Linked DNA regions of Homo sapiens: regions 1 and 3 are each linked to region 2. Evidence: promoter capture Hi-C in 16 types of primary human blood cells and fetal thymus (Javierre and others, 2016). All regions are on one chromosome and are shown on one strand. Each heading gives the region's core, a stretch centred on a gene start or on the middle of the fragment in contact. The rest is flanking DNA. Distances are from core to core; before and after follow the strand shown. Region 1 overlaps LOC124902807 (potassium/sodium hyperpolarization-activated cyclic nucleotide-gated channel 4-like). Region 2 holds the start of ALKBH3-AS1 (ALKBH3 antisense RNA 1). Region 3 has its middle 8.3 kb from the start of MIR670.

The links. Contacts are between HindIII fragments. The CHiCAGO score rates a contact against its expected background, and 5 or more counts as called.
Region 1: a fragment that was not itself captured here is called in contact with the fragment with the promoter of ALKBH3-AS1 in region 2 in 1 of 17 cell types (neutrophils); the score reaches 5.0 in neutrophils.
Region 3: a fragment that was not itself captured here is called in contact with the fragment with the promoter of ALKBH3-AS1 in region 2 in 1 of 17 cell types (neutrophils); the score reaches 5.7 in neutrophils.

What each region holds. Positions count from the first base shown.
Region 1 is chr11:43,570,030-43,574,095 of GRCh38, forward strand. The region is part of intron 2 of LOC124902807 (potassium/sodium hyperpolarization-activated cyclic nucleotide-gated channel 4-like); the gene reads right to left. MIR670HG (MIR670 host gene) reads left to right here. Exons shown (of 2, transcript NR_131246.1): 2 at 1-371. It also overlaps a transcript of HSD17B12 not described here. Among named protein-coding and RNA genes, the nearest start is that of MIR670HG, 2.8 kb to the left of the region's middle. The HindIII fragment of the contact is 1,633 bases long and covers 1,053-2,685 here.
Region 2 is chr11:43,918,139-43,922,220 of GRCh38, forward strand. ALKBH3-AS1 (ALKBH3 antisense RNA 1) reads right to left here and starts at 2,806. Exons shown (of 6, transcript NR_038907.1): 1 at 2,736-2,806; 2 at 2,248-2,326; 3 at 1,448-1,524. ALKBH3 (alkB homolog 3, alpha-ketoglutarate dependent dioxygenase) reads left to right here. Exons shown (of 10, transcript NM_139178.4): 9 at 900-998; 10 at 1,780-2,136. The coding sequence ends at 1,872. It also overlaps a transcript of ACCSL not described here. RefSeq lists an enhancer at 2,088-3,287. The HindIII fragment of the contact is 1,418 bases long and covers 1,893-3,310 here.
Region 3 is chr11:43,549,559-43,553,191 of GRCh38, forward strand. No RefSeq gene overlaps it. Among named protein-coding and RNA genes, the nearest start is that of MIR670, 8.3 kb to the right of the region's middle. The HindIII fragment of the contact is 273 bases long and covers 1,828-2,100 here.

The DNA of each region.
Region 1 (4,066 bases), core at 619-3,118, 350 kb before region 2:
TTCTCTTTCTCCTATTCCTCCCTCATGCTAGATTCAGTCCATCACTCAGCCTCCTGTCAGGAAAACCATAGCAAATCCTACTTTCTGCTAAAATGAAGTTACAAGACACTTTTCCAGAGTAGTCACACTCAATGAAGGGACCCAGGGTGTATCTGAGTGTGATGTAATTGAAACCACATGGAAAGACTAGAAATACCTTGCTCCCAGTCAGATATAGTGAAACAGCTTACTCAAGACTGGACTAAGATTTAGAATATAGGGGGGCTAGGGAGGAGAAAGAGAAAGATCCTCAGAAGTGGATTGTCCCTGAATACAGGATGAAATCATCTAGATTTTTTTCTCCAATTAAATTTGCATTTCATTCAACCACATTGCAATGGCTTCATACTGGGCATTTTCATTTGAGACCCAAGGCTTTTCTTCATGGGTCCTGAGCCACAGGTTCCTGGATGGTGAGGTAAGTGGCATTTGCCCGCACTGTCTAGGGTGGTTTGTAGTGCTTTGATAAACCCTGTGCTGATGAGTCAGATCCACCCTGTTAGGCCCTAAAATTTGTCCTCTATTGGTCCCTCTTTACCCAAATGCTCTTCAGGGATCCTAGCCCAGACATAGATGTTAGTCCAGCCTCACAATGTTAATTTAGACCTCTATAAAACCAAAACAGATCCTGAGGATTGACCAAACCAGAATTTGTTGTCTCTTTCTCAAAGACAATCACTACTACAAAAAGTGTAGCTCTCTGAAAACCCACCATACCTAGAAAGTGTATTTTCTCCCCTCCCCTTTTCTTTCTACTTTTATAGGTAAGCTAGCACTGATGGAAGATACCAGGTTTTCAAATGTGAACTGAAGTCTCTCTTCTCATGACAAGATTCAGATCCAATTCATTATTTAACTAATAGCCTCTCCAATAAGTACAAAAAATCTTGCCTATCCAGCAGATATGTTAGTCCATTATTCCTCTATGTCCCCCAGCCTATACTTATTAGACTAGGAATTAAAGAAATACAATCCCCATTCTTTACTCTTGGCCTACCAGATATAGTGATCCAAGCTTAGTAGATCAGCAGCTAATTGCAAGGCTGCTTTAATAGTGAATGAATAAAAAGTTCTGCTAATTCAGACCTACCCAACACCCATGAATTTGTGATTGAGCTATCTCTCTGCCTGCTGAATTCAGGTAGATAAACAACTGTCCTTCAACCACAAGGTTAAGGCTAAACTTATGCAGGTATCTCTAAACATGCTGCAGATTGTTCTTTTCTCTCTGTGGCCATGCTTCCCAACCCCTGACACCTTTCTATTTAGCCTCTGCTAAGCTCAAGTGTGCTGGAATCCTGATCCCTGCCCCAGCCTCAGCCCCCTATCATGTGCTTGCTTTAGCTCCCCTGTCTTTGCTGAGATCCTCACCATGAAACCAACTCTAGGTATTCCTGAGTGACTCTCTAGGTTCTCATTCTCTCCAATGTGCCTTTTATCAGCAAGGCATGGGAAAACCTATCATCTGGTTCTCCAAGGTGTCCAGCAGTTAGAATGGCTGAGAGGAGGGCATTTGAGTTTGCCCATCGATAATGGGGTTGTGCGAAAAGCAGATATTGTCTCAACTGTTCTGAAGTTGAACAATGTTACTTTCAGGTGAATAGACTGTTGAGACTATTTTGAGTTGTTGATGGCAACCAAAAAAAAAGGGGGAAGGGGTGGAATTACAGTCACTTTCCTCCAGCATCCAGTGGTCCTTAAAACTTTCACCCTCAAATCTCCAAATATGCTGGCTTCTAAGAAGTGCTTTCCAAGACCGAATATACTTCTTGATCAGGGTAAGTGATGAAAATGTGTATTTAACAAGGGGAGGGGATCTTGAAATAGCCTGAATTATGCATGCTGTGGCCTATCTACCCCCACCGTGCTAATGGCTCAGCCTATAAAGTTTTCAGAATCAGAAAAATAATCAGAGATGCTAGTTTCTGAAGGAGCGACGGAGGACTAGGATGACTAGCTAACTCAAGGTGCATGTAGACTTTCTGCTGTTCTTACTTTAGGAAAGGTTTCTTGGAAGACTGGACCAGGGAGTTCCTAATTCTTCCCTGGACCATCTCAGGGGCATCCTCGGTGTGAGTGGAAGCATGCTTGGATGCAGCAGCCTGAATGAATGTCAAGTTCACTGCATCTCCACCACAAACTGGTTGGTTTCAGGCAAATCCCTTGAGTTTTGGATGAGGCTAAACCAGCTAGGGCTTTCCTTGAAATAGGATGGAGGGGTCTCTTCTCACAGGCAGAGAGCCTTATTCAGGGGGCATCTATTCGCTAACAGGCTTCTTAGGAGGAATAGATCAGTCTCGTTATTCAGAAAATGTCTGAGAAAGTCCCAGACACCTCCAACTCCACATGTTGGGGGATAGACCTGGAATATTAAAGATCAGAGGTTGGAATCGAGGCAACATGATGGAGTGATGTGGCATGAGTATTGGAGCCATACAGATATGAATTTGATCTGATCCTTAGTTTTGTAACTTCAAGTTCTAAGACTTTTAGACAAGCTGTTTAAACGTTATGGTCTCCATTTCCCTAGCTTTCAAATGGGAAAAATAATAACTGTTTTGGGAGTGATTTCTATGCTCAACAAGCCTAAGGGGTAGGTACCATTATCATAATGACACCTAGAGAATTGCCTTAAGGATTAAATAAAGCTTCTTATGTAAAAGTGTCCGGCACAGTGTCTGGCATATAGTTGAAGCTGAAAAACTATTGGTTTCTTCTCTCTCCCTCTTTTCCTTAGGCCAAAATAGTTCTGCTCCCTGATGAAGACACCTTTAGGAAAAGAGGAATCCTTTTCCTAGACTTCCTCCCTGAGGGACTTCCCTTGGTTGATATCATGGGAGCTGGACTGTTTTTCCTTCTCCAAATCCAGTACATTACCTACTGGCATTTTTCGTGGTGCTTGGGGAGGAGACAGTCGACGCAGGCAGGAGTTTCTGGGCTTCGCTCACCCTGAAAGAGAGGAGACTCAGTTCTTTTCAAGGGCTTCGTGATAAGCAGCCTACTCCCACAAGCCCTCTGGGGGAGCATTGGGGGAACGAGTCCTCCTCATGCTTGGGATGCTCTGGAATGAGCTGGCAATGCAGAAGGCGGTTTTCACCTTGGACAGGTTCCACATCAGTCTATTCATTTGCAGGGTCTTTAGCTTGACTGCTCAGACAGGAATTGGGCACCACAGCCCTTAGTACAGGATGATGAGACAGCTCGGGAAGCCAATTTCACCAGCTCCAGCCCAGACATCCTCCAAAGGACCTGACTGAGGAGTAGGGGAAATGGAGATGCTAGCTATGGAGGTCTAACTTTCTGCAGATGTTTCTGCGGAGCTTCCAAGCCCCTCTCTGTCTTGATTACTGGAGCAAGACAGAAACAAGGCAGAGAGGCGCCCTCTTCTGGGAGGGAGGAGCAAAGACATTGAATCCACCAGGAAGCCGGCGTTACACCAGCATAATTTTGGCTGCTGCCCTTAAAGTTCTGATGTGCATTTCTTCCATTTCCAACGCTACCTTACTTGTTAGGACTAGATTCTGGGTTTGCTTAAAAGTTGTTAAGTGATTTTAAATGAATCTGTCTTGATCTCAACATCAGACACAATAACACTCAGCCACTATATACAGCATAGAAAGCAGTTACATTCTAAAGTGCCCTGCTCTGTATAGTTTCAATAGTCCAAACAGAAACCATGTGGCTTCTGTGAATGTGCCCACACACATGAATTTATGCTTACACATACCTAATTTCATATCTAAAAACATACCTACTCTGTGCCTTTAAAAACATGTTTAGCCTGACATTTTCATTAATCCAAGGAGACTTTATTGAAACACTGCCGGCGTCTCCTGTCCATCTGGCCACATTTGATGACCCCATGTGATAAGTCATCTTCAGTGCAAGAACCAGGGCCGCCTCCCTCTCATTGATATTTCTCCTGACTGCACACCTCCCAACTGCAGCAACATTCTCACATGCATGCATGTATGCAATCGTGAGCTAAAAATAAACAGCTGCTGATGGGCTGCCAGAGGGTGTCCTC
Region 2 (4,082 bases), core at 1,556-4,055:
CAGGAAGCTCAGATCTGTCCCAGTCTCAGCACTTGACATGCTCTTTGTTGCTGTGAGCACAGAAGTTGTTTAATGCTCCTGGTTTTCAGCTGTGGAGGAGCCACACTACCAGTTAATTGCTTTGCAGCTTATGCTCTGAAGACTCCTGAGAATATTGGACATAAATTGCTTTTGAGCTCTCTGTGTAAATACAAAGCATTTGTATCCTAAGTGTACAGGAGTCGTGATCCATCCTCAAAGATGTAAACAGCCAATCTCAGTTTGACAGCACTGTTTTGGTCAAGCCAGAGCTCCCTTTGAGAAAATCTTGCTGTTGTCTGTTCTGGAAAGAGGCAGGAATATGTCTCCAAAACTCCATAGTAGCCATGAGAAGAATTGAGACTATAGGTGCCAATTAGTAAATTAGCATACATTGTGAAAAGGTGAAGGAAGTCATCGCATCAAATCTTGGTTAAAAGGACATTTTTCCCACACTGAGTATGTCAAAATGTAGAGCACAACATCAGTCAGATGTAAAGAATTCTTGTACAGGTGACTTTTATTTCCTTCTTAGGCCAGAATGGGCTTTTCTGCATTTTGGATTATGATGATGACACTAATAGCTAGCACTTACTGCATGCCAATCTTCAAGGGATTTACACATATTCTATCAATGGAGGCTCACCATAGCCCTAGGTGGCAGTCACTGTCATCCTCCCCATTTTACAAATGAGTAAGTCAGGGTACAGAGAGATGAGGTAACTTGCCAACAGTCAAGCAGCTGCCAAATGACAGAGCTATATATGGATTCCCACAGTCTGGCTGAGCAGAGGTTTCCATTTTTTTTTGACCTCTGTCAGGTTCTGTTGCATCTTGATTACACAGGCAAAACATTTATTACAACAAATGCTGTTTTCTAGGAAGAGAATGGAGACTACACATATGTGGAAAGAGTGAAGATACCCTTGGATCATGGGACCTTGTTAATCATGGAAGGAGCGACACAAGCTGACTGGCAGGTGAGGATCTGCAAGTAATATGAATCTGCTTTCATGTGGAGGCAGTTTCCTGACTCTGAGGACTATTTCTAAGTAGACATGGTGAAAAGCAAGCTGCTTTTACAACGAGCAAGAGGGAATGAGCTGACATTCTTTCCAAGGAGTTTTGCTACTACTGACAATCCAGGTGGACACTAGTGTGTCCGGTAGAACTTTCTGTGATGATGAAAGTGTTCAGTATCTGTGCTGCCTATTGTAGTAGTCACTAGCCACATATGACTGACTTCTTAAAATGTGGCTTGCATGCTATAAAGAACTGAGTTTTTAATTTAATTTTAATTAACTTAAATTTAAATAGCTTCAGGGTAGCTAGTGACTATCTTATTGGAATACACAGCTCTGCAGCTAGGCCATGCCATTTTTAGGCCAGATCATTTCTAAGGTGCACATGTTAATGTCAAAACACTTACCATAAGAATGGAATCTCATGCCTCTCTTTGGTCTCATCCATTTATATGTTTTATGAGATTTGGGAAATGGCAGGTGTCTGAGAGGAACAGCAACAATTAGAAAAGATGAAAATATCTCACTTCAGAGGTGCTGGCATAGCACAGTGGGGCTGGGGATGGAAATTTGTTTCAAAGAAGGGACCTTTCTCCACAAGACTTCAAAGAGCTTACTACTCATTTAAGGGGGATGAGATGGAAATATTTCTGCATTCTCATGAATAAGTTTTAAGTCGCTTTGAACTAAAAGTGTGTATGTGTGTATTTATGTCAGAGTTATGTGTATTTCCATTTAGCATCGAGTGCCCAAAGAATACCACTCTAGAGAACCGAGAGTGAACCTGACCTTTCGGACAGTCTATCCAGACCCTCGAGGGGCACCCTGGTGACGTCAGAGCTTTGAGAGAGAAGCTTCACTGAAACGGAGCAAACCTTCCACTGAGAAGCCACTTCAAGAGGCTGGTGCTGCTAGATCTCATGATGTGGCTGTTGGGAAGATGGTGGGGTTTGTTTGCCAGCTTGGAGTCCTATTAAATGAAAGCCAGCAACTCATGTTGGTAATAGGTCTACTGTGGGAACAGTTATCCCTAACCACAGCTCAAAATCGCTATCATCTTTAGGCAAATTAAAATCTATGTGGCAGTGCTCATGGATGATTTTGTTCTAAGCAGTTTTCCTCCTGCCCTCCCCCGCCCCCCACACGCCCCGCCTTCATTTGAAGAAATATCAATGGACTTGTGCCTCTGGGGAAAAGAAAATCTCACGTGTTTGTTCCTTGTGACTTCAGTGAAGTGGAGATATAAATATGCGTCAGGGACTCTGGAGCCTTCCGTAGGCAGACAGCTGCTGAAACCCAAACAGAGGTGGTTTCATCTTGGCTTGCATACTATTGTAATGGAAAGCTACATATTCAGGGAACACTGTAACTGAGTCTTCCTGCAACACACTCAAGACAGGTTACAGGCCTCCAAATAAAGAGTGGTGGCAGTATGCTCTCGTCTAGCCACCTTCAAGTAGTCACCTGTAATACAAGAGAAAACTGTCCCCTTAAAGGGAGGAATCACTGAATGATGTCACGGGAAGTAGCAGGCTGAAATTGAGGCTGAAGAGCAGCAGAAGGCCTGCTCATGACAGCTGTTCCACATAGATTATTTTCCCCTCGGGAATCACTTGAGTCATCTAGACCCAAGTCAGATAGAAGTGGGAGCAGCCCTGCAGGGAATGCACTCAATTGCCTAATAGTTCTCGTCACCTTGTGTTTCAGTAGCCCTATGACTAACGCTCTCTTCTGACTCAATGTTTTCTTACATACAAGGTCCCAAGGTACAAGGGTTAGTCTGTGATGTCACTGAGGTTCCCAAAACAAAACAGAGTGGCTGCCCATTGTTGCATCATAAAACCACGTGTCTTCTTGACCTCTTGACTCAGGAGCCGTGTACCAGATTCATTCCAAACCAAGATACAGAAAACCTGAGAGAAAGGAAATGAATTTAAATGGATGAAAATAGGGCGGGAGAGTTAGAGTTTCTCTGTCTGCCAGTGGGGGAAAGGTACAGTGCCTTCTTGCTTTTTATCCTGTTTCCATTCCAGGCTGTAAGATTGATGCTGTCCATGATCATAGGAAAATGCCAAAGGCTGGGCATGCTCTGACTCGGCACTCAGATGGAGCACCATGCCTGGCCAGGCTGTTCTCTGACAAGCTCTCTGGCTCCTGGCATTGTAGTCCCCCTGCCCTTTTAAAAAACAAAAAACAAACAAACAAAAAATGAGCACGGCTTGTTTCTCTAAGAAATATGAAATACTTTCTAAAATTTGAGCACCACACCAAGCTTTCCTGTGAGGGAGGTTCAAATCACCATAGGAATAAAATAAAGCCTCTTTTCAATGCTTAGCTGTTCTCCTATTAATGCAAATAATACCTGGCCAGGTGATACAGCCAGCTTTGGTGATCAGTTTGATGCATGACACTAGGAAATTTATCTTCCATTCCTTACTAATGAAAGAACTGGCAGATGGTTCCAAGTCTTCCAGCGTCCCTCTTTCTTAATGGAGGGTCATGATCTCCCCGTGTGGCAGCTGTGCATTTGATCTCTTCACTTGTCACACCCATGTCTTCCAGGGAAACATTTCTACTCTACAGCAGATGGAGTGGGCCACCACCTGGGTTTCTTGGTCTGAGAGCAGCAAATCTTCAGTTTTGTTTTTCTTGCTGTCACTCCAGATACCACATGCCAGAACTGCCCTTTTCTTTACCATTAAGATAATGTCCCTTCTGAAATGGCAAGTAGGTACTTGCCATAGAGTAAAACTACAGGGTGTAGGCATGGACAGGAATTCCAGACCATGGCAAAGGGCAGTGTGCCTCAGTGACTGCAGCAGCCTGTTGCTTTGTTTTGCTGGTGCTAGATCTGAACTAGGAATTAGAGGTGAAGCTGTTTTTGCTTACATCGCGTGTAAAGCTGAGGAAGCAAATATAACAGCGGTAGCATGAAGAAAAACAGGTTTCGGTTTTGTTTTTGCTGCCCTTCTTCTGAGCTTCAGCAGGCACTGTCCTAGGAGCTTTTATACATAATCCCTTATCCTTCCCACAGCGCTGCAA
Region 3 (3,633 bases), core at 714-3,213, 370 kb before region 2:
TCTTCTCCCGATCAGCCAGCTCTGCGTGAATTATTGCAATTCCTCCGTTGATAAATCTGTTCTATCTGGGAAGTGGGTAAAATGAACCTATTGGGCGGTTACCAAGTCGAGGTGGAGGGCTGCCTGGGACAAGCACTCCAGAGTAGAATCCCCTAAAGTAAACCCTCTCCATGAAAAGCCATATAGGGTGTGGCAGACAGCCTGGATTAGGGAGCTGGGGAAGCCACCCGCCAACCAAATACCGAGCACTGGGGGAGGGGCAAGGTGCGAGGCAGACTGGGGAGGACATGGAATCCGATGGAATCTGACCCAGGCCATTCCCTGTCTCCCTGAGGGAAATCAGAGACTTGGTGCTTTTACTTTTACAGGGATCCTATTCCCAAGGCAAGGGTTATTCCCCTTAGGATAGTTCCAAGGAAGGCAAAACCTAAGTGTGTTCATTGCTGGGATGGCCAGGAAGTGGAGTAATAGGAAGAGAGTTGGAGGCAGGAAGTGGGTCCTTTTGGCTTTGTGTCTGGATTTCAGTGTGTCTGGACAAGTGCCTTTCTACCCTTGGCTTTCCAAACTCACTTATGAGGAATGGGAATGGTCAGTTTAATGGCTATTGAGTGCCTGACACTGTGGAGAGAACAAAGGGAGTGCCAGGTGATGTCCCTGACCGACAGGAATTTCTGTCTCATGGGAGAAGGCCTATATTCTGGAAATACTTAACAAAATGTCAGTGGGTCTGTGAGGTTAAGAGCCAACGTGAGAAGTGTAGACAAGTGCTTTGATAGAAAGGAGAGAGCGATAGAGGCCAAGGAGCCAAAGAAGGGGGAAGATCTGGATAAATGGAGAGGAGCTTTGGGTGCTGAGAACTGCATGAGCAAAGGCAGAGAGGAAGGAGTGTTTCTGGCTAGTCCACTGGTCAGGAAGAAAGCTGGTTTGGCTGGAACAAAGGGTGCAGGATCTGAGAAGGCCAAAGATCTGCTTGACGAATGAGTCTACTGAGGCCCAAAGCAGAGGCTTCCAGGTTCCCCTTCAGCCCCAGTTACCCAGAACTTTGTAAAGCTCAGTGCTGATCACATAAAACCATCCTCAGAAACATGCAGTGGCTCTCCGTTGCCCAAATGCTATCATGGCACACAAGGCCCATAATAACTTATCCTAAACCTACCAGGTCAGCTATATTCCTGTTCTACACTTTCAGGCCCACCATATCCACCGAATTACCTCTGGGCCCTGAATATGCCCTCTACTTTCCCTCTTTTTTGCCTTCAATTGCATGCTTTTCCCTTTTTTTGGAAAGTTCTCTCCTCCCTCACCATTTCTGCCCACTCATCCTTGAAAACACAGCTCAAGTGCCAGCTCATCCCCCAGCCAGATGTAATTTTCATCTGAGTTTCCACAACATCGTGTACTCTATCTTGGCACCTCACGTTCCATGTTGTATTATGGATATGCAGAGACATCATCCTTCAAAGTAGATACTGCTAATTGGACCACTTCTCACCACCTCCATCACTGTCAGCCTATTCCACGCCACCATCATCTCTTGTCTGGACTGCTGGGATGGCCTCCTGATCAGCCCCATTGTTTCCTTCTCGCCCTCTTTAGTCACTTCTCTCCAGAGCAGCAGAGTGATCCTTTTAAAACATAGATTATGTCACTCTCCTGCTCAAAACCCTACAATGGTTTCTCATCACATTCAGATGTTATTCAAGACTTAGTATGAAGGTCAAGACCTACGTTATCTGGCCCTGTCTACCTCTCAGACACCTACCACCCTCTGCTTTGCTCACTAAGCTCTGGTCACTCTGTCCTTCTTCCTCTTTCCACACTATTCCAAGCTTATTTCTTCCTCAGAGTCTATGCACTTGCTGGTCCCTATAAATGAAGTGCATTTCTTTTAGAATTTACATGGCTCATTCCCTCGCTTCATTCCTGTCTTGGGTCAAATATTTTCTCAGAGAAGCATTCTCTGACTACCTTATCTAGAATATGTCTTCTACCAGACACTCTCCACTCCCCTTTTCTCTAGAGCCATTACCACTGTCTGAACCATATTATACTTATTTGGTTATTTATTTGTTTATTGCCTGTCGCTACCATAAGAAGTTAAGCTTTGTAATGTCAGGAACTCCTGTCTTGTTGACTGATGTAGAACGTTCGTCACACATACTAGGTACTCAGTTTTATAAAGGAGTGAATGAATCTAAGCTCTGCTACTAAACTATACGTTCTTTGAGGGCAAGCACCATGTTTTATACATTTGAGTCCCCTTTTCCAAGTCCTAGTTTCTTATACCTAAGTCCACTCAAATGCTTGTCTGAATTTCAGATTCTGCAGAGAAAACCCCCAGCTGCTTTTCTCCCATTAATGTAATTATACCTGTTTAAAAGACATCAGGAAATGGTCTTTACCTATCCTGTCACCTCCAGAGATGACTCAGTCTTCATCACATTGATCCCTGGCAAGTCTACCAGATCACAGCTTCTCCAGTTGTGGATCTCAGGCCATTAAGGGGTTGTGACCTACATTTTTTGATGACATAGAACAAATGAGAAAATAGCAGAGTGCATTGCAGGTTTTAAGGATAACTATTACTTTTTTCTGTTGTGGGTATCATCAGGTCATGCTATAAAATGAACATCTGGCCAGGCGCGGTGGCTCACGCCTGTAATCCCAACATTTTGCGAGGCCGAGGAGGGTGGATCACCTGAGGTCAGGAGTTCAAGACCAGCCTGGCTAACACGGCGAAACCCCGTCTCTACTAAAAATACAAAAATTAGCCAGGCATCGTGGCGAGTACCTGTAATCCCAGCTACTTGGGAGGCTGAGGGAGGAGAATCACTTGAACCCGGGAGGCAGAGGTTGCAGTGAGCCAAGATCACACCACTGCACTCAGCGTGGGTGATAAGAGTGAGACTCCGTCTCAAAAAATATAATAATAAAAATAAAAAATAAAATAAACATTGTTGGCCATTGTCTAAAAACTTTGAAAGTTCTAGATGTCCCATAAGTAGTTATTTTATAGAATACATACTTATACTCTTAATATTTAAATAGCTAGCATTTATTGCAGGTTATTTTTGTGCTGGGCACCTGTGTTACACTGTTTCACATACATTATCTTACAGTCCTCATTACAGTTCTAAGAGGAGGGGCTTATTATAATTCTTATTATTTTCATTTTACAGAGGAGGAAACTGAGGCTTAGAGAAATTAAGTAATTTGCCCATGATCACAAAGCTGGTAAACAGCTAAGTGGAAGGCCCACTTCCAGAGCTTTCCTTACCTGCTAGTGAGCAATCTCTCCAGCAGCATCTATTCTTTAATTTCATGTTCTGAACTGAAAAAGCCCCCACAGCCTTGTTTTATGTCAATAAACACTACTTACCCAGCATTCTGATGGGAGATTTTTTTTTTTTTTTTAGGTTGCCGGTAGGCACCACTGAGGCAAATGGACTGTTGTCCTGTTAAGAGTTCCACAGACCTAGAGAGTCTGGGAATCACGGGTCTCAATGTATTCACACTAGTCCAGAACTTGAAGAGACCTGGAACTGCAGCTGCTCGGGGGCCACCTGACAGAAGCTGTGGTTTTCACAGAAGGACACAGCCACAGACAGCCCATAGCTTGGCAGGGAGGAAGGT